Linked DNA regions of Homo sapiens: regions 2, 3 and 4 are each linked to region 1. The links are contacts of gene promoters, found by promoter capture Hi-C in blood cells and fetal thymus (Javierre and others, 2016). All regions are on one chromosome and are shown on one strand. The core of a region is centred on a gene start or on the middle of the fragment in contact, and the rest is flanking DNA. Distances in the headings are between cores, read along the strand shown.

Region 1 (2,700 bases), core at 80-2,579:
CTCTGCAAGAAGAAAAATATGGCTGTTTTTGCCCAACCCCGCAGGCAGTCAGCCCATATGGTTGACTTCCCTTGTTCCCTAAAAATTGCTGTTATTCTGTTCTTTTTCAAGGTGCACTGATTTCATATTGTTCAAACACACATGTTTTACAATCAATTTGTACAGTTAACACAATTATCACAGTGGTCCTGAGGTGACGTACACCTTCAGCTTACGAAGATAACAGGATTAAGAGATTAAAGTAAAGACAGGCATAAGAAATTATAAAAGTATTATTTGGGAACTGATAAATGTCCGTGAAATCTTCACAATTTATGTTCCTCTGCTGCGGCTCTAGCAGGTCCCTCTGTTTGGGGTCCATGACTTCCCGCAACATCCAATCAATCCTCCATAATGGGCAAAGTGATCTTTCCATAGTGTAAATGTGTTCCCACCACTCTCTGGAGTAATCCTACTTAAAACCGTTTTCAGCACAAAATTCAAACATCTAAACATGATCTTGCTGGCTTTGCTTTTGTGGCTTTACCCTCTTTCTCCCCAAACCTAGCTAGTGTTTGTGCTGCCTGTAATGCCCTTCTTTCTTTGCAGGGGTCGCCACTTTAGGTCCTGGTCCTCCTTCAGAAAGTTTTTCCTCTTTCTCCCCAGCGGGGATAGGGTCTGTTTATTTTGACACCATTAGCTCACTTACACACATTGGTCACAAGTCTAGGCTGCACCGTTATTGAAAGTTTACCATCTGACTCTGAGTAGCTTGAGGATCCTATCAAAACTCAGGAGATGCTCAGTAAATGTTGATTGAACTATGACTGTTCTCAACATACAAACGCAAGATCATTTAGGAACACTTGTCAAAATGTTTTTGCCCCTTGAGATTCTATTTTGGGAGGTAAGCAGTGGGGGTCCAGGACTCTGCATTTTGACAGTCCCCTGATGTTTGCATGTAGAAGTGCAGGGATTATTACACTGACAAATCTTTACCATCCCTAAGGGGGACTTTCCTTCCCAGGGGCTATCTCTGGAAGCCCCTCAAGGATAGGGGCCGCATGCTGTTTCTCTAGGTCAGCAACTAAACCCAGAAAACGTTTATTGAGTGAATGATGAAACGACAGGTGAATAGATGAACGCAAGGTGTCGAGTTAACTATTCTTCTACACAAGTCCTAGCAGCTCCCATTGCTTCCAGCCGCAGAAATGGCCCCTGGAAGGCAAGTCTTCCAGCGAGTGGAGTCACTCTTAACTACATTTCCCAGGATTCCAAGGGAGCCGCGCGCTCTGCGCTCATCTTCCTACCAGAAATCGGCAAGTCACTGACCCTCGTCCCGCCCCCGCCATTCCCCGCCTCCTCCTGTCCCGCAGTCGGCGTCCAGCGGCTCTGCTTGTTCGTGTGTGTGTCGTTGCAGGCCTTATTCATGGGCTCACCGCTGAGGTTCGACGGGCGGGTGGTACTGGTCACCGGCGCGGGGGCAGGTGAGCATGCGAAGGTTGGAGGCCGCGCCCCTTGCTGAGGCGCAGCTGGCTGCTCTTTTCGGGCCGGCATACGCGCGCAGCCGCAGCTGAGGTCACCCCGCTGAGGTGGTGGGGAGGGGAATGGTTATTCTTGAGGCACCGCATCTCTTGAGGAGGAAAGAGCCGGAAACACCTGGTCTCTCAAGCAGGTACAGCCCGCTTCTCCCCAGCACCCCGGTGTGGGCTTCCCAAGGTCCTGCCTGAGAGGAGAGGCCAGGCTGGGCTGCTGATTGCAAAACTGGGTGAAAGTTCTCCCTGACCCTTATCTGTGGGCATCGATTGTTACTCTTCCTGCAATTAACTCTCTTAGATCTTTGCCTAGTCTTTTAAAGGACTGAAAAGCCGCGAGGGGCGGGGGCTGGAATTCGCCCCCTGAAGCGCAGAGATGTCAGCTCCTGAAAAGTCATTCGGTCGTTCAGTGTTTGTTTCCCTCTGTCGTAAGATTTTAAGTTCGTGAGAGGACCTTCTTTAAAGAGGGCGTCTGATAAGAGCCCTTCCCCGTTGGAGTTTGTATGCTTAGCAAGTCACAATCTGTTCTCGAAATCCACTGGAGTCTTGGCAGAGGTTGTAAGCTCAAATGCGCACAGGGGTCAGGCGTATGATGGAGAAAGAAAATGGGAGTAGGATGGGCACATCTGAGGAACTGGAGAGCAGAGAATTCCGAAGTGGACCGGCCAGTGGGAAAGTTGCCTGTATTTCAGGAGCGGCAAAATGGAAAATTGTTATGTGAAATAGCCCCATTTTTTAAAGTACAAAAAATTAAAACAAACCATTCATACCAACATAGATGCTGTGCAGTGAGATTTTACATTAGTTTCTCACCAGTGGGTGACCTCTGTAACCTCCAAGTGCAGGGATCTTGACATTATGCACCTTTGATTCTCCACTGGTAGTACCTTATACCTGGAAAGGCCCTAATGCATGAATTATTTGAGTTATATATTAAACGTTACAAACTGGAATTCTGTCAATTAATTCCTATGTACTTTCATATCTGTATTGATAAAGTGGCTTCTTATGCTGCCTTTCAGAAAATGCTTTCAGTGTTGATGAATAGCCAAGTATTTTATACCCATAGCTGTCTGGTTATCTCTGCATGGGCATGTATTTGGGTGTAGTCATACCTTCTAAATGTTTTTAGGAAAACATTTTGTTTACACTTTGCTTTTATTGTAAATAATGTATTTTACAACGC
Region 2 (2,700 bases), core at 174-2,673, 200 kb before region 1:
TTCCATATTTGTATTTGGTTAATGTAAGGAGGATGGAATAACTTTCCCGAATACCCTGTTCTTTTCTACCGTCTTTTTAAGTTGATAGGTAAGCAGCATTCAAGGAAGGTGGGAATAAAAATTGTTGAAATGTTTAAATATAAAATGATATACATATATGTAAAATTTCATTATCCACATTAATGGAGTGGATACATCAAAATACATTTTTTAATTGTGTGTTTCCTAAGAATGTGGCTTTGTGATCATATAAGGATTCACAACATTAACAAATCTTATTTTCTGATATCTAGGATTTTTCTTAACTAAAACCATGGACCAGTCATCTCCATCCTCCTTTCTTGCTCTTTGCCCTTGCCCTCCCTTCTTTGAAAAAAAAAATATTTTTTAGAAGAATTGCAGAAATTTCTCACATTGGTCCCAACAATGGAAACACAATACAAAGACACATTCAAAGAAAAGTCTATACAACCTTAGGGTGGAAGTGATCTTTTTAACAAGATTGGAAACACAGACATATTTTACTTAATAAAAAATTTAAATGTCATATGGCAGGGACCACAGTCAAAGTTAAAACAACAAGTAGACTAGAAGAAATATTTGTATAGTAATAGGAAACATGTCAGTGTCCCTGTATACAAAGAGAAGTTTAAGTTATTGGAGAAGTGGTCACACTGTGAATAAGCAATTCACAGAACAGGACATTGAAAAAGTCAACAAATATAAAGTGTGTTCATCTTCATTATAAGGGTTAATGGATTGTTTTTTAAAAAGTATTACTGTAATACTAGTTTTTATCAGATTGGTTTAAGGTTAAATAGTGACAATATCCATTTTGGTGAAGATGCAAGGAAATTGGCAGAAACATTGCTGGCAAAGTTATCTGGGTGTGAATTAAAATCAAATACACATAACTTTCAGTGAACAACCTTCTGAGAAATTATAAAAATAAAAGCTTCCATGCATAAAAATGTAAGGACACAGATGTTTATTGAAACATATTCTAGAGGCCAGATGTGTTGGCTCACACCTGTAATCTCAGCACTTTAGGAGGCTGAAGCAAGCACAGGTCACTTGAGGTCAGGAGTTTGTGGCCAGCCTGGCCAACATGGTGAAACCCATCTCTACTAAAAATACAAAAATTAGTGGAGTATGGGGTTGTGTGCCTGTAGTCCCAGCTACTCAGGAGGCTGAGGCAGGAGAACCACTTGAACCCAGGAGGTGGAGGTTGCAGTGAGCCGAGATCATGCCACTGCACTCCAGCCTGGGTGACAGAGCAAAAGTCTGTCTCAAAAAATAAAAATGAAAAAAAAAAAAAAAAAAAAACTGGAAATCTAAATGTTAATTAGCAAGTAAATGGTTGAATAAATTATGGTACATACATGTAATATTATAGAATATTCTCTCACCACTAAAAAGAATGTTAGATATGTATATGTTGGCCTGAGAAGAGGCTGATGAGGAAAAAAAATTACAGAGCAAAAGATACAATATCCTAATTGTTTAGACTTTTTAAAATATATATGAACAAAGAAATGCATGTGGAAAAAATACACAAAACTTTTAGCATTGGGAAAAGGAAGAAGGCTGTAATATTTTCCCAAACTCCTTTAAACCTCACTCAGTAAAGTAATACCAAAGATAGTTTTGTTGAATGTGTGTACGTGGGAAAAACAGCTTTATTTTTAAACCAAGTAGTACTTCATGACTTTGGGAGCTGCTCTGTTGAATAAAGTGATCTGGTGTCAGGAACACTCCTCTTTGAATTGTTGAGATATTTTTGGTGAAATTTATTTAAGCTGAATGTTAAAATGTTACCCTTTGGAGCAGGAGTCCCCAGCCCATGGGTGACAACTGGTACCGGGTTGCACAGCAGGAGGTGAGTGTTGGGCAAAGCTTCATGTGTATTTATAGCTGCTCCCCATTGCTTGCATTACCACCTGAGCTCCGCCTCCTGTCAGATCAGTGGAGGCATTCGATTCTCATAGGAGCAGGAACCCTACTGTGAACTGCGCATGCAAGGGATCTAGGTTGTGTGCTCATTATGAGAGTGATGCCTGATGATCTGTCACTGTCTCCCATCACCCCCAGATGGGACCATCCAGTTGTAGGAAAACAAGCTCAAGACTCCCACTGATTTTATGTCATGGTGAGTTGTATAATTATTTCATCATATATTACAATGTAATAATAAACTGCACAATACGTGTAATGCGCTTGAATCATCCTGAAACCATCTGGCTCCATGGAATAACTGTCTTCCCACGAAACCAGTCCCTGGTGCCAAAAGGGTTGGGGATTGCTGCATTGGAGTACCTGGAAAAAGTTGATCATAGATTATTTGAATGTGCCTGTTAGTATTCTAGAAATGTGTGTAGATTTCAGTCCAGTTATTTTCAAAGCTGAATCTGTTTTTGAGCTTTTCAAGATGTTTTTTCTTTCTGCTTGGCTGTCATTGCACATATATGGTCCATTACTCAAGGAACTAACACTGAGAGTGTCACATTGTTTCACAGGGGTCCTTGGAACAAAAACACTTTTAAGTTCTTCCACTGCAAATACAGATGACTAATAGAAACAATTGGTGTGACAACACATTTCACTCCACAGTGGAAAAAATGCTTTATTCATGGACAATCAATTTTCTATGCAATGTACAGGTATGACCTGTGTAACAGAACTCAGCCAGTATGGTGTATC
Region 3 (2,700 bases), core at 186-2,685, 250 kb before region 1:
TTTTGTAGAGACAGGGTTTCACCTTGTTACTCAGGCTGGTCTCAAACTCCTGTGCTCAAGCAGTCCGCCTGTCACAGCCCCCCAAAGTGCTGGGATTTTAGCTGTGAGCCACCATGCCTGGCCCCCAGTAGTTATTTTTGTGATCCTCTTTCTCCTCCCCACTTCCCCCTCAAGTAGACCCCACTGTCTGTTGTTCCCTTCTTTGTGTTCATGAGTTCTCAACATTTAGTTCCCACTTATAAGTGAGAACATACAGTGTTTGGTTTTCTGTTCTTGTGCTAGTTTGCTAAGGATAGTAACCTCCAGCTCCATCCATGTTCCCACAAAAGATGTGATCTCATTCTTTTTTATGGCTACATAGTATTTCTTGTATCTGTACCAGATTTTCTTTATCCAGTCTGTCACTGATGAGCGTTTAGGTTCCATTTCTTTGCTATTGTGAATAATGCTGCAGCGAACACTTGTGTGCATGTGTTTTTTATGGTAGAATGATTTATATTACCCTAGGTATATACCCAGTAATGGGTTTGCTAGGTCAAATGATAGTTCTGTTTTTAGCTCTTTGAGGAATCGCCATACTGCTTTCCACAATGATTGAAGTAATTTACACTCCCACTGACAGTGCGTAAGTGTTCCCTTTTCTCTGCAACCTTCCCAGCATCTGTTATTTTTTATAAATAATCTGTTATTTTTAAATGATAACCATTCTGACTGGTGTGAGATGGTATCTCATTGTGCTTTTGATTTGCTTTTCTCAAATGATCAGTTATATTAAGCTTTTTTCTTAGGCTTATTGGCACGTACGTCTTCTTGTGCAAAGTGTCTGTTCATGTCCTTTGCCCACTTTTTAATGGTGGTGTTTGTTTTTCTTTTTTAAATTGGTTGAAGTTCGTTATAGATGCTGGATATTAGACCTTTATCAGGTACATAGAAAGTATTTTCTCCCATTTCTGTAGGTTGTCTGTTTACTCTGTTGATAGTTTCTTTTGTTTTGCAGAAGCTCTTAAGTTTAATTAGATCCTATTTGTCAATTTTTGCTTTTGTTGAAATTCCTTTTGGGGTCCTTGTCATAAAATCTTTGCCTGTTCCTGTGTCCGGGGTGGTATTGCCTAGGTTGTTTGCTAAAATTTTTGTAGCTTTTGGTTTTACATGTAAGTCTTTAATCCATCTTGAGTTGATTTTTGTGTATGTTGCAAGGAAGGCATTCAGTTTCAATCTTCTGCATTTGGCTAGCCGGTTATCCCAGCACCATTTATAGAATAGGGAGTCTTTTCTTGATTGCTTGTTTTTGTCAGCTTTGTCAAAGATCAGATGGCCAGAGGCGTGTCACCTTACTTCCCAGTTCTCTATTCTGTTCCAGTGGTCAATGTGCCTGTTTTTGTACCAATACTGTTCTGTTTTGGTTACTGTGTTTTTGTAGCATACATCGAAATCAGGTAATGTGATTCCAGTTTTGTTCTTTTTGCTTAGGATCGCCTTGCTATTCAGGCTCTTTTTACGTTCCATATTAATTTTAAAATAGGTTTCTCTAGTTCTGTGAAGAATGTTGGTGGTGGTTTGTTAGGAATAGCATTGAATCTGTAAATTGCTTTGGGCAATATGGCCAGTTTAATGATATTGATTCTTCTTCTCCATGAACATGGGATGTTTTTTCCATTTGTTTGTGTCTTATCTGATTTCTTTGCACAGTGTTTTGTAATTATTGTAGAGATCTTTCACCTCCTGGTTAGCTGTATTCCTAGGTATTTTATTCTTTTTGTGGCAGTTGTGAATGGGGCTGCCTTCCTGATTTGGCTCTCAGCTTAGCTGTTGTTGGTGTATAGGAATGCTAGTGATTTCTTGTACACTGATTTTTGTATCCTGAAACTTTGCTAAGTTGTTTATCAGATCTAGGAGCTTTTGGGCTGAGACATGGGGTTTTCTAGATATAGAATCATGTTATCTACAAACAGGCATAGTTTTACTTCCTCTCTTCCTATGTGGATGCCTTTTATTTCTTCCTCTTTCCTGCTTGCTCTGGCCAGGACTTTCAATACTAGGTTGAATAGGAGTGGTGAGACAAAGCATCCTTGTCTTGTGTTGGTTTTCAAGGAGAAAGCTTCCTGCTTTTGCCCATTCAGTATGATGTTGGCTGTGGGTTTGTCATAGATGGCTCTTACTATTTTGAAGTATGTTCTTTCAATACCTAGCTTATTGAGAGTTTTTACATGGATTGATGTTGAATTTTATCAAAAGCCTTTTCTTCATCTATTGATATAATTATGTGGTTTTTGTCTTTAGTTCTGTTTATGTGATTCATCACATTTGTTGATTTGCATATGTTGAACCAAACTTGCATCCTGGGAATGAAGCCTACTTGATCATGGTGAATTAGCTTTTTGATGTGCTGCTGGGTTTGGTTTGCAAGTATTTTGTTGAGGATTTTTGTGTTGACATTCATCAAGGATATTGGCTTGAAGTTTTGTTTTTTTTGTTGTTACTTCTGCCAGGTTTTGGTATCAGGATAATGTTGACTTCATAGAATTAGGTGTGAAGGAGTTCCACCTCCTCAGTTTTTTGGTATAGTTTTAGTATGAATGGTACCAGCTTTTCTTTGTACATTTCGTAGAATTTGGCTGCGAATCCATCTGGTTCTATGCCTTTTTTGGTTGGTATGCTATTCATTACTGATTGAATTTCAGAGCTCATTATTAGTTTGGT
Region 4 (2,700 bases), core at 43-2,542, 230 kb before region 1:
CAAAAACTATGAAGGGTCTCAGATTTTACCTTAAATTAAAACTAACAGTTAGCTTTCTGTTTCTGTTGCCACAGAAACAGTTCTGTTTGAGGCAGGCAGTGGATTGTTTAAACAGTCCATTTAATTGATCCATTAAACATTTTAGTGGATGCTGTTAGAAGACATACGACTCTTGGATCAGAGACAAAGGACAGTTTATGTCTAACAGCAAAAGCAATAACCAGAAAATCAGCACTTTACACTGGTTGCCTGAGCCACAATTTCCAGAGAATGACGGGAAGAGGGCCAGATGATACCTACCTTACCTACACACATAGTAGGTTATATTACAGGAGAGGATCTCTGAGTTTAGGGGACCCAAATCTTTTATAATCGATAGTAAGCATACTTGCCCTTTGCTCTGGAGGGAGAGACGATAGTTATACAAACATCCTGGCAATTATACTGCAGAAAAAAGGGCAGACATGACTCACTTATAAAACATGCAGAATTTGGGATACCCATGGAGAATAACCACCCAATAATCTAGCTATATCATTTTTTCATTTATTTCTAAGGTCTCAGTTTTTTCTTAATAGTTTGTGTTAAAATCTAACATAACAGTAATGGTAATCCTATTTTCTCTTTGCTGTCAATATCTTCCTGTTTTCTGTTTCAAAGATACACATTTAATTAATTAATTAATTTATTTATTTATTTATTTATTGAGACAGGGTATCATGCCTGGTGCCCAGTGCTGTGGTGCAATGTCAGCTCACTGCAGCCTCGACCTCCTGGGCTCAAGCAATCGTTTCACCTCATTCTCCCAAGTAGCTGGGACTGCAGGTGCATGCCACCATGCCCAACTAATTTTTGTATTTTTTGTAGAGACAGTGTTTTGCCATGTTGCCCAGGCTACTATCGAACTCCTGAGCTCAAGCTGTCTGCCTGCTTCAGCCTCCTAAAGTGCTAGGATTATAGACGTGAGCCACTGCCCCCAGCCAAGATGTACATTTTTGATTCATAGGCATTTAAAATTTCATGTCATTTAACCTTAGCAACTTTTCATTTGTGATCTTTTTCTGGCATACTTCTCCCACTATATTTCTGCCCCTACACCTTTTTTCTGTGACCCTTTCCCACTTCTTTTTTTTTTTTTTGCCTAAGATTGAAAAGCTTTAGGAGAAAGTTTGTTTTATTTAAATAATTAATAATTATGTTTTTAGTTTGGAGTTCCTTATTGCCCTCACCTTTCTGTACCCTACAGGTTCCTATCTTTTTCAGCATCTTCCTCCACATTTCTGAATTGTGCATACCTTAGAGCGATCATAGCATTCTAGCAGTCTAGAAAAACAGTACTGGGAGAGGAAATAAAATGCTGCATGTATTGCCATTTATACTGGCTTTCTATTGGATGTACTTTTCATAGAACATAAACGTATCTCCAAACTGAAGCTTATTATTTCACTAAAAGTAAGAATGCTGTATATCCTGTACTTTAGTTATCACTGCTAGAGGTTATTTCAAAACTACCATTTTCAAAAGCAGCTCATATACTATCTCTTTTGCCTATTGCTTTTAAAATTACCATTTGACTTATTTTTCAGGCAAATAGAAACTGCATAGCAATCGCTTCCAGTCATGATGTTCAAGAACTGGATGTTTCTGGAATTCTGGCCACACAGGTCTACACTTGGGTAGATGATGATATAGAAGTGGAAACCAAAGGGTACCTTCATAGTTTGTTTCTATTTAGTAATGTTGCAATATGAGTGACTATATTTACTGAACTAAAACTTTCAAAAGATTCTTTAAAGCAATGTATAGATTGTAAGCAGAGTAGAAGCTGATGTGCTAAATGAGGGGTGGCAAGAGCTTTAAATAAGGGAACTGAGAGAAGAGTAAGTGAAGGGAACAGAAATTGTTGAGGTATGAGGTCATTGTGTGTGAGTTACAAATAAGAGCTGAAGAAAATTAATTTTAAAGGGAACTATAAATTCAAATTTTAGACCTTTCAAGTGTAAAAAAGAAAGAAATGATGAGTTGTTTTTATTCTGGTTGACATTCCTTTATAGATCAGAAGATTTCTTGGTTATACATGCTCGTGATGATTTAACAGCTGTTCAAGGTACAACTCCATATACACATAGCAATCCTGGCACTCCAATCAACATGCCATGGCTTGGTAGTACACAGACTGGCAGAGGAGCATCTGTGGTATGTAAAGTTAAAAATAAATTTAAGTTATATGTAACTTTTATTTTTCCCTCTAGGTTAATGGATAAAGGATGATTTAAAACATTTTTCTTAATTCCTAAAGTTTTAGTAAGTCTTACATGTTGGAAATTGTAAATTTTGATAATGAAGACTAGTATGTTTTCATTTGAAAGGGTAATAATAAATTGTTTTAAAAATATACTTTGCTTGAAAACCAAAGAGCTATATTTTAATTAAGAATTATTTGAAACATGGTTCAGATCAGGCTTCAGCAAGGTGTTCCCCATAGATCAAATATTACCCATGACCTGTTTTTATATAGCTAATATGCTAAGAATGGTGTATACATTTTAGTGAAATGGTTTATACATTGTTTTTTCAATAGTTGAAAAAACAAACATAGTATTTTTTGGCACATGAAAATTACATGAAACTGGATTTCAGTGTTTTTTTACAAATAAAGTTTTATAGGAACACAGCCAGTCATTTGTTTCCATTTTGTCT

Evidence for each region. Contacts are between HindIII fragments. The CHiCAGO score rates a contact against its expected background, and 5 or more counts as called.
Region 2: a fragment that was not itself captured here is called in contact with the fragment with the promoter of HSD17B4 in region 1 in 1 of 17 cell types (non-activated CD4 T cells); the score reaches 5.0 in non-activated CD4 T cells.
Region 3: a fragment that was not itself captured here is called in contact with the fragment with the promoter of HSD17B4 in region 1 in 4 of 17 cell types (naive B cells, activated CD4 T cells, total B cells and 1 more); the score reaches 5.8 in naive B cells.
Region 4: a fragment that was not itself captured here is called in contact with the fragment with the promoter of HSD17B4 in region 1 in 5 of 17 cell types (total B cells, naive B cells, total CD8 T cells and 2 more); the score reaches 14.2 in total B cells.

What each region holds. Positions count from the first base shown.
Region 1 is chr5:119,451,168-119,453,867 of GRCh38, forward strand. It overlaps HSD17B4 (hydroxysteroid 17-beta dehydrogenase 4), which reads left to right and starts at 1,330. Exons shown (of 24, transcript NM_000414.4): 1 at 1,330-1,466. The coding sequence starts at 1,409. RefSeq lists an enhancer at 1,431-1,480. The HindIII fragment of the contact is 7,394 bases long and covers 1-2,700 here.
Region 2 is chr5:119,249,206-119,251,905 of GRCh38, forward strand. No RefSeq gene overlaps it. Among named protein-coding and RNA genes, the nearest start is that of MIR5706, 96 kb to the left of the region's middle. The HindIII fragment of the contact is 941 bases long and covers 954-1,894 here.
Region 3 is chr5:119,199,065-119,201,764 of GRCh38, forward strand. All of the region lies in intron 32 of DMXL1 (Dmx like 1), which reads left to right. Among named protein-coding and RNA genes, the nearest start is that of MIR5706, 46 kb to the left of the region's middle. The HindIII fragment of the contact is 1,322 bases long and covers 775-2,096 here.
Region 4 is chr5:119,218,886-119,221,585 of GRCh38, forward strand. DMXL1 (Dmx like 1) reads left to right here. Exons shown (of 44, transcript NM_001290321.3): 36 at 1,587-1,708; 37 at 2,055-2,196. Among named protein-coding and RNA genes, the nearest start is that of MIR5706, 66 kb to the left of the region's middle. The HindIII fragment of the contact is 279 bases long and covers 1,154-1,432 here.